Regions from separate parts of the Homo sapiens genome. Here all the other regions are linked to region 1. Evidence: promoter capture Hi-C in 16 types of primary human blood cells and fetal thymus (Javierre and others, 2016). All regions are on one chromosome and are shown on one strand. The core of a region is centred on a gene start or on the middle of the fragment in contact, and the rest is flanking DNA. Distances in the headings are between cores, read along the strand shown.

Region 1 (2,510 bases), core at 7-2,506:
CCAGAACAATGGAGAGGGGCCAGAAAGGTATAAAAACTTTTGTGAAAACGTCAAAAATAAATATTTAGTTAAAAATAAAATTTCCCATTTTCAGATTTTGTGAATATCTGTAAGAATTTCCAGGATATATTAATTCGCTAAAGTTAATAAAAGCAAGAAACAGAAGGACGTTTCAGAATGCTATTGTTTGTGTAACAAGGGGGTGCTGAATACATACATAATTGCTTGGTTATGAATAAACTGGCTCTGGAAGGACACACATAGCTAATAGCATCGTTACCTAGGGGGAGGTGAAGTGGGTCCTGGAGAACAGAAAGGGAGATTTTCCACCTTACACACATTTGCCATCTTATGATTTTGAACGATAAGAGTCCCCCCGCCCCTTCCTTCCTCTGCCCTGCCCCTTCCTTCCTCTGCCCTTTACTCTCTCAATATCCTCTTTTCATGCTTTTTTTTTTTTTTTAAATCACTTCGGGTCCTTTAAAAAATTTACTTGCAAGAAGTACGTACATATTCTGAATAAAATTCATTTTCAGATATATGTATTACAAATATCTTGTCTGTTCTATTGTCTTTCCCTTTTCTCAATGGGGTCTTTTCGGTGTCTTATAGTTACAGACACCCAATTTATCAGCTTTTTCCTTTAGGACTGGCACTTTTTGTGTTCTGCTAACACGTTATTTTCCTCTCTTATGGTCATAATATTCTGCGATTTTATTGTCTAGAGTTGTATTGTTCACATTCAGGTCTACCATCCGTCTAGAATTATTTTACTTGAGATAGGAGTCAAGGTTCATTTCCCCCCAATCGACCTTCAATTGACCTAGCACTATATATTGAAAAAACTCTTCTTATTGCATTACAGTGGCTACTTGTAGGAGGAAAAAGTGACTACATAGCTGCAGGTCTGTTTCTGGTCTCTCTCTTTTTCATTCATTGTTTTTACCTTTGTGCCAGTTATCACACTGTTCTGATTACTGTGGCATTATAATCATCTTGATAACTGTATCGTGAATTCTCCAACTGTGTTCTTCGCCGGAAGTCCACGGAACACCAACCACGACCTTCGGAATTTCCCTCCGGAAGATGAAGGCACTGTAGTTATGCGGGTGGACCCTATCAGATCTCGGGTCCATCGGGTCCTGTGTACACCTTGAGGGACGCCCACCCAACGCGCATGCGCAGCCTCAATGCTGGGATTGGACGGAGCCTCGCCGGCTGCGTACACGTCACTTCCGAGGCGGGAGGATGAAGTTGATTGACTATGGTCTCTCCGGCTACCAGGTAGGGGCTGGGGAAGAAGGAACCTCCGAGATGAGGCGATAGGGTCTGGCCTTGAGCTGAGGCGACGCCCCGGCTTGGGTGAGGGGAAGCGGTGTAGTGGTCGAGCTAAGGCCGCGGGCCCTGGGCGGCTTCCGGATCCCCGCGACGCCGAACTCTGAAGGAAGACTCAGCCCAGGCGCTGGGACCAGAGCCCTGGCTCCGGCGAGTGCGTGGCGGGGAAACCCGCCTGTCGCCGAGGTGTCTTGAGTCCAGTTTCCGCTGCTGGGAATGGGTGTCGCGCCGGGCGCTGTGTGTGAAAGGCCTCGCGCCCACAGGGCTCCTGGCTTCAACCTGTTTATTCCCACATTTCTGCGCGACGTAGGGGAGGCTCCGCAGCGTCTGCGAGTGGCAGGACCGAGGGTTGAGCGCTGGGGGCCAGTGGCACCTTAGCCAGTGACGGCGAGTTAGGACTAGCAAAGGAAGTCCGGTTTTTCAGAAGGCAGGAGGAGGGTGCTGACTCGAGCGTCCACGGGAATGGCTGGTTGAGATATCTTGCTCTTCCAATACTTACTCTGCGGCTTCCTGGCTGTGCGGCTTTGGGCAAATGTTTTAAACTCTGAGTGTTTCTTCAGCTGTAACTTTGGGAGTAACAAGCCCACTCATAAGGTTGTTGTGAAGCGTAAATGAGACTGCGCGTGCAAGGTGCTCAGCTGGTGTCTGGCACATAGTAGGTATTCAACAAATGGTAGCCACATAATGCTCTTTTTTTCAGTTTCCAAACCTTCCATGTAGTGATTGGAGAATCGTGAAGTTACTTTTGAAGTAACGTTTGGGTTTCACACACTCATACATTTAGTAAGCAGAATTCTTGCTTACACTGTTGCCGATTGCAACGGTGTGTTTGCATAATGGAAGCTATGTTTGTGCCTTTGCCAAGGGTGTGGAATATGCCTTCCCTACCATGTACATGTCCCCTTTTCTCCATTCCTTAATAATAGTTGATATTTTTTGAGTGTTTGCTATGTTACAGGCACTGTACTAATCCCTTTACTGAATTATTCAATCCTGTAATAACCCTAATCATAGGAACTATAATTTTTATTTATGGAGGGAGAAATGGGCTTAGAGATGTTAAGAAGTTTATCCAAAGGCATAGAGCTATTAGCCAGGCAAGGTAGCACACGCCTGTAGTCCCAGCTATTTGTTGGGGCTGAGGCAAGTGGATTGCTTGAACCTGGGAGACAGGC
Region 2 (2,510 bases), core at 6-2,505, 420 kb after region 1:
ATCTGCCTCATTCACATTCACTTGGGAACCAAAAATTCACCCCACAGCTTAGTATTCCCAGTTGTGGAAAAATTCAGGCACCTTCTGGATGAGACAAATGTGAAGAAGCCAGACATGAAAAAACACTTATATGGATTGATTTATATGAAATGCCCAGGGAAGAAAAATCTATTGAGATGGAAACTAGATTTGTGATTGCTTACAGCTGGGGTAGGGGTGGGGGAACAGGGTGATAGCTAAAAGGTACAGGACTAATAAAAATGTTGTAAACTTAACCATGGTTTTGGTTGCACATATCTGTGATTATACTAAACCCTAGCAGATCATAAGGTATGTGAATTTTTCCTCAATAAAGCTGTTTAAAAATAAAAAAAAAATTAGGCTGGGCACAGCAACTTACCCTGTAATACCAGCACTTGGGGAGGCTGAGGCAGGAGGATTGTTTGAGGCTAGGAGTTCAAGACCAGCCTGGACAATAGAGTGAGACCCCATCTCTACAAAAGATTTAAAAAATTTAGCCAAGCATGGTGGTGCGCACTTGTAGTCCTAGGTACTTAGGAGGCTGATGTGGGAGGATCACTTGAGCCTGAGAGGTGAAGGCTGCAGTGAGCCGTGATCATGCTACTGCAATCCAGCCTGGGAGACAGAGAAACATCCCAACTCAAAAAAAAAATTATTACGAACTATTTTATACATACAAAATTACACAGACACACACACATACACAGACTCACATAAAAGTAAAATAAATACATTGTACCCATCACCTGCACCACTACATTTGAAGCCATCTGCATGGTTGGCCCTTCTGAAATGTAACCCCATCTGGGACAATCATTCATCTGAAGCTTTACAAAAAGTATTTCCCTGACTTTCATTATACTTTTATTACATAATAATATCTCTAAATAATATATTGTTTCTCTAAATAATATACTGTTTAACTTTGTAAGTTTTTACACTTTCTATAAATGTGCTGTGTATCTCTGTAACTTGCATTACTCATTCCACATTGTATTTTCGAGAGCCTTCTATGTTTTAAGTAGTTTCTCATTCAATTCTATATATTGCTTACTAATTAGCCTTTAAATTGAATATACTAAGACCTGCTGGAGAGAGAATTCTTGTGGGATAATGAGTATAAAGTGCTTAAAGCAGTGCCCCATTCATTATAGGTATTCAATATATGTAATACTATACACAATATTTTAATACTGAGTAATTATATACATATTATGATTGCTTGTTTCTTTGTGGATGTACATTATTTCATCAACTGCACTATGAACTAATAGTTTTCTTTCTTCTAGGGGAGGGGGCGGGGTCTGGCACTGTTGCCCAGGCTGAAGTACACTGGTGCGATCACGGCTCACTGCAGCCTAGACCTCCCGGGCTCAAGGATCCTCCCACCTCAGCCTCCTGAGTAGCTGTGTCTATCAGCAGTGCCACCACTCCCAGCTAATTTTTAAATTTTTTGTAGAGATGGGGTTTCACCATGTTGCCCAGGCTGGTCTCTAACTCCTAGCTCAAGTGATCTGCCCACCTTAACCTCCCAAAGTGCTGGGATTACCGCTGTAAGCCATTATGCTGGGCAAGAGTTTTCAAACTACGGTAAAATTCAAGTTACAGATACCTTTGGGAAATGCCTCATTCTAAGTATTTGAAGCTTCCAGATAGCTAAGATTAAAAATTTTTACATACTAACTTGTTTCTAAGTGTATGCTTTTACATTTAAACAAACTAAAAACATAAGCTTTATAAAAAAATTTCAGCCATTTCCAAATTCTCTTCCAAACTTGTTTAGAAACATACATGACAGAGCTTTGGTCGGATTGTGCAAACTGTTGTGTGTTCTGTTTTTAAAATATTACTTAACTTGTACACTTCCACACATTGGCATGGCACATCATTGCCATTTCCAATACGTTCCTGTGCTTCACCAATTTCCATAGCTGTCAGAGGGAGAGCAGCCCAGGTGACAGGAAATGAAGTTGTCTGGCTCCGAGTCCTTACTAGGAGGACTTCTGGGATCCAGAATCTTTGCATGGGGCAGATGACATATTCTTAGAGGCCATTCATTTTTTCCACTGTAGCTGCTAGTGCCAGTTTCCACTCCACTGCCTGAGGGCAGGTTGATCTTGTAAGCCATCACCGATGGATTTGTGGTCACTGCCTGGAACCCTGTGCCAAAGAGGACTGGGAGGTCCCATTCAGGAGGGAATCCTCTGACTTATTACTGGCATCTGAGCATCTCCCAGCATGGCTGTTCCTACTTGTAATAAGGTGATGTCAAATGACTCCAGGGCAGTGCTCCGGTTCCCATGAACACATCTGGTCACTCTGGGAGCTTTTGAGTCAGTGAGCTCTCTCCTCACATCCCGATACACTGTTGTTTGCAAAAATATATTTTTATAGGCAAGGTATTTGTGTTTTGGATTTGCACCCTGATGCAGGCATTAATTTGTTTAAAAGGATAATTTAACATTTTCAGGAAGCTGAACATCTTTAAA
Region 3 (2,510 bases), core at 8-2,507, 360 kb after region 1:
ATTGTCCTACTTCAGCCTCCTGAGTAGCTGGGATTACAGGCACCCCGCACCATGCCCAGCTAATTTTTGCATTTTTAGTAGAGGCGGGGTTGCACCACATTGGCCAGGATGGTCTCAAACCTCAGGGAATCCACCTGCCTCAGCCTCCCTAAGTGCTGGGATTACAAGCCTGAGCCACCACGCCCGGCCGCAACTTTTAAAGTGTCTGAAATTACATCAAAATAAAAGATAGGAAAAATTAGAGAAATTAATGTAGACAAGGCAGATATCTCAACAGCCACACAACAACCATGGAAAGATTTATTTATTTATTTTGAGGCAGAGTTTCACTCTGTTGCTCAGGCTGGAGTGCAGTGGTGTGATCTCAGGCTTACTGCAACCTCCACCTCCTGGGTTCAAGGGATCCTTCCATCTCGGCCTCCTGAGTAGCTGGGACTACAGGCATGCACCACCACACCCGGCTAATTTTTGTAATTTTTGGAGAGACAGGGCTTCGTCATGTTGCCCGGGCTGGTCTCAAACTCCTGAGCTCAAGCGATCCACCCACCTTGGCCTCCCAAAGTGCTGGGATTTCAGGCATGAGTCACTGCACCCAGCCAGGTTTCTTTAATATACTGAGGAAATATAACTGTCAACCAAGATTTATCTGCTTACATAGTGATCACTCAAGATTATGAATTGAATCAAAACCTTTTCAGGCAAAAAAGAAGACTTGAAGAGTTCATGGCTAAGAGAAATTGCATTGAACTAAGTAGTAAGGATGTAGTTGAAGGAAACCAAAATATTTCACCCCATAATATATTTGGACACATTTTGAGATGGCTGTTTAGAGGGGCCTGCAAACAGAAGCAGCCCTGCAAAGCTGTCTTTTGAGGGGAAGGTTTGCATCTGTAGAGAATCCGCACTGACGCAGGCAAGTTTCCTCTGAAGCCTTCCCTTGTCTGGATCTAGGAAGGAGTCCCTCACAGTCTGACATATTTAGCCATCAGAAAGAAACATTTACCATCTATTCTCTCCGAGGACTGCTGTCTGTGTGGTTCTGTCTGCATTCTGAGACCACCTTTGCCAGCCAGGCCTCCTCCTCCCTCTCCCCTAACCTGTCTTGCTGTCATCCCAGCCTCTGTTCCTTCTGTAATCTCAAGGCGGTAAATAAGCTTCTGCACACCATTGTGGGGTTGGGATCATCGCTCTGGTCCTTCTCCATCTGCACATTAATAAACGTGCATGCCATTTCTCCAATTAATCTGACTTTTGTGAGTTGATTTTTCAGTGAACTTTTCAAGGGCAAAGTGGAGGTTTTCTTTTGGCCCCTACAGTTTTGGTGTCCTGAACAGAATACCAAAGCTGCTTTGCTCTTCTGGAAGCTTCAGTCAGGGGACCCAGGACCTGACAAGCTGGCAGAAGGGTAACAAATTCTTACCAGCCAGGCTTCTGGCTGGTCTCTCTGTGGAATCCAGGTGAGCAGATGGTAAAAATCAGTCATTTTTCCTCTGCAAGATGTTGATTAGTGTGAGAAAGGATCTGTGTGAACAATGTTGGGTGCAGCGACTCTGGTGTACTTTTTGGTGTGAATATTCATATTGTTTAGTGCCCTTCCTTCCAGGAGGATTCTTCTCCTCTGTCTTGGTCTTCCTGTGTTCTGTCCTGAGGAGAGGACTTGTAGGGTAGAATGGGGGCTGAAGATCCTGCCAGCCCATTGTTCAGGCCAGACCTGAAGAGCAGCCAGTCTGCGGCTGAGATCAGATGGGCATTCAAACTTTGCTGTGGGTCCTCAAAATAGAAGCCAAGCCAGGTGCGGTGGCTCCCAGTCCTTGGGGAGGCTGAGGTGGGCAGATCACTTGAGGTCAAGGGTTCAAGACCAGCCTGGCTGACATGGTGAAACCCCATCTCTACTAAAAATACAAAAATTAGCCAGGCATGGTAGCGAGCACCTGTAATCCCTGCTACTCAGGAGGCTGAGGCAGGAGAACCACCTGAACCCAGGAGGCAGAGGTTGCAGTGAGCCAAGATCATGCCACTGCACTCCAGCGTGGGTGACAGAGTGAGAGACTGCGTCTCAAAACAACAACAAAAACAAAATAGAAGCCAGATGAGGACCCCTCTCATCTTGTTTTATGCCCTGGAGTGTTTGACTTGTGACAAGTGGGAGCACTGTCTCTTGTTTCTACCATCTGGGGTGTGATTTTTGGGTCCCATCAGGTGTTCAGTCTGAAGATGCCTGGGAACCTGAGATACAAGGTTTTAGGCAGCACACTTTTTGCTCTGAATGTGTCCAGCTGTTGGGAATGTTTGTCTTAATAAGAAGTCCCATCCATAAGGAATTTTTGTGGTCTGGCCCTTGTTGCCTGGATAGTCCTGGGAAAGTCCCATCCTAGGAGAGCTGTCCAGTGTCATGAATTAAGGGGTCTTTGATGGGTGTCCCCAGAAATGTGTGGGTCACCAGAGGCACTGTGTACACAAACACCATCCTAACCATGTGTGGCAACAGAGTCCGTTGCTTTGCAGGGACG
Region 4 (2,510 bases), core at 4-2,503, 290 kb after region 1:
AGGGTGGGGCATGGTGGCAGCTGTTGGGAGATGGAACAGAACTCAGCCTCCTTGCAGCTCCCAGTGGTCTCCAGCAAGCACACAGGGCTTGTCCCATGATGTCACCCATCCCAGGCGGCAGGGCCGAGCCTCCTGCCTTCCCTTCCTTCTGCAAGGATGTGCTGGGTGCCTGCTGTTGCAGCAGCGCCCTCCCCAGCTGGGGGAGGCTGACCTGAGACAGGCAACTCCTTTCCCAGGAGGGGAAGCCCTGCTCCAGCTTGTAGCAGGCAGGGGCTGAGGAGGAGTTTCAGAGCGTGCCAATGTCTCCACTGAGGTGACGAGACAAGCCTGGAGTGGGGTGAGGGAACACACACGGCCCAGTTTTGGGAAACTAGACTTTCATCTGTACCTTGAGGCTCAGCCCCAGATCTCCAAGGTCTTCAGCAGGGACTTGTGGGGAGAGAATTCCTTCCCTTCCCAAACTATGTGAGTGGAGAGTTCTCCACTCCTCTGCATCAGCAAAGGACTCAGGGCACCCTCTTTCTGCAGGATTTCGATGATGATTCCAGACAACCCCGGATAAGAATCCCCTGCCTGAGTCATTCCTGGGTGATGGTGCCGTGCATGGCAGAATGTGGAGCAGGGGCTTGGGTGCCAGGGCCTAGGGGGTCATGAAGGCTTCCCAGTGGGAGCTCCCTTGGGTTGGACTTGGGGTGACCCGGGGACCCTGGAGGTGGCTTGGTTTGGTGGGGACCTCCTTTCTGACTCTGGGGCCCTCCTGGGACCCCAGTAGCAGGATCAAGGCCAACTGGGGCCAAAACACGGTAGCATCTGTCTTCACTCAAGCCCTCCGGGCCATTCCCATGGCGCTGACTGGTAGGCATGAGGCCCTGGCCCCAGTTGGTGCTCAACAAATGCTTATCGTAGAGTCTCCAGGTGCGCTGTCCTGGCTGTACTAATGCCGCAAAGGGCCCTGGGTCAGAATGCAGGCCACTCATTTGCTGGGGGACCTCCTGTGAATTCCTTTCCCCCTCCAGCCTCGGTCTCCTGATCTGCAAAAAGGGGGTGTTCATAAGAATGGCCAGCTCACAGGTTTGTTGGAAAGGAGGAGAAAGAACCCTGACATAGTGAGTGCTCCTCAGTGCCTGCCTTCTGCTAAGTCAGATTGCACTGGCACTGCCCGCCCTCCTGAGGGGCACCCGGAGGTGCTGCTCTGGCTCAAGGTCACAGCAAGGAACACATAGCCCAGGCCTAACCCCAGGTCTGCGTGACTTCCATGCACTTCCCTGCCTCTCCAGGGATGATGTGAGCCCAATCCAGAATCTGCTTTAAAACAGGTAGAGCTGGGATGGGGGTGGAGAGCTTGTGAGCGTTCACTGAGCGCCTGCGAGCTTGATGTTTGAGGTCTGTCAGGCCCCACCCTTGATCTTGGGCTGGCCCGTGTCAGCAGGCCTCAGAGGCACTGCTAACCTATTTTAGAGGAGGTTGGTCGAGGGAAGCTAAGGGACTTGCTCGAGGCCCCCACAGGGTAGTTCCTCAAGCTGGGATCTAAGCCAGGCCCTGGGCCCTTCAGTCAGTTGACCCAGATGCTGCCACCCTGCTGGGCACTGGACACCTCAGGGCCTCTGCCTGCTGGTGACCAGGGCTGGGCTGCGGTCTCTGCCAGTGGAGGGGTGCCCCAGCTGGGGCCTGCCCTGGACTCATCTCCACTTTTCCCTTCCTAAAACCGGTCTGCAGGGAGGACCCCCACAACTTGGGAGGAATCACAGCCCAGATCAGAGCTGCCTGTGTGCTCCCCAACAGCAGTGGGGGCCCCAAGGACACATCGGACCCCCTTCAGCCCACTCTCCACCCGGCACCAGAGTGGTCTTCTTACAACCAGAATCAGGCCTTGCAGTTCCCTGCCTGAAACCCTCCCTGGCTTCTCCTTAACACTGGCAATAAAACCCCAGCTGCTCCTTGCCCGCTTCACCTCTGCAAGCCCGCCCCGTGCAGCCCAACCTTCCCTGCTCTCACTCCTGCTCCTGCCCCTCTGCTGCAGGCACCCTGTCCCTTGGTTTCCCTGACATTCCACATGTCCCCCCACCCCAGGACCTTTGTGCGTGCCTTCCCTCTGCCTGACACTTTCCCCTCAGGTCTTAGCAGACCCAGCTCCTCAATTTTCGAGTCTAGGCCTTTCCGGACCCAGTGCGAGGGATGGCAGATGCTCCCTCTGGAGGCAGCGGTCACCCCCAGGCTTGCAGTCTGCTGTCCTCACCAGGCTGCGAGCTCTGCGGGGCAGGGACTGCCGTCTCGGTCCCCGCTGGTGCCCAGCGCCAGGAGCAGGGCATGGAGGAGCTCCATGTGTGCTTGGATGGGGGGTGTGGGCCCTGCAGGCGTCTCTCCCACACAGAGGGCTCTACAGGTCTTGCCACCTGAGGCCCCCTTTTTGCTGAGCCAGACAGGATGGGGCCCAGCCACCGGCCACACCCAGGGGAGAGCAGCCCAGCCTGGGGTAACTGGAACTGGGAACCAGGAACAGAGCGGACAAG

Evidence for each region. Contacts are between HindIII fragments. The CHiCAGO score rates a contact against its expected background, and 5 or more counts as called.
Region 2: a contact is called between a fragment that was not itself captured here and the fragment with the promoter of DHRS7B in region 1, in 4 of 17 cell types (total CD8 T cells, fetal thymus, naive B cells and 1 more). The highest score is 7.5, in total CD8 T cells.
Region 3: a contact is called between a fragment that was not itself captured here and the fragment with the promoter of DHRS7B in region 1, in 3 of 17 cell types (naive B cells, total CD4 T cells and naive CD8 T cells). The highest score is 7.8, in naive B cells.
Region 4: a fragment that was not itself captured here is called in contact with the fragment with the promoter of DHRS7B in region 1 in 1 of 17 cell types (M0 macrophages); the score reaches 5.2 in M0 macrophages.

What each region holds. Positions count from the first base shown.
Region 1 is chr17:21,125,708-21,128,217 of GRCh38, forward strand. DHRS7B (dehydrogenase/reductase 7B) reads left to right here and starts at 1,257. Exons shown (of 7, transcript NM_015510.5): 1 at 1,257-1,284. The coding sequence starts at 1,265. RefSeq lists an enhancer at 919-1,578. The HindIII fragment of the contact is 14,531 bases long and covers 1-2,510 here.
Region 2 is chr17:21,546,306-21,548,815 of GRCh38, forward strand. The region is part of intron 1 of LINC02693 (long intergenic non-protein coding RNA 2693); the gene reads right to left. Among named protein-coding and RNA genes, the nearest start is that of LINC02693, 4.1 kb to the right of the region's middle. The HindIII fragment of the contact is 818 bases long and covers 847-1,664 here.
Region 3 is chr17:21,485,807-21,488,316 of GRCh38, forward strand. No RefSeq gene overlaps it. Among named protein-coding and RNA genes, the nearest start is that of LINC02693, 65 kb to the right of the region's middle. The HindIII fragment of the contact is 210 bases long and covers 1,153-1,362 here.
Region 4 is chr17:21,419,995-21,422,504 of GRCh38, forward strand. No RefSeq gene overlaps it. Among named protein-coding and RNA genes, the nearest start is that of KCNJ12, 45 kb to the left of the region's middle. The HindIII fragment of the contact is 7,786 bases long and covers 1-2,510 here.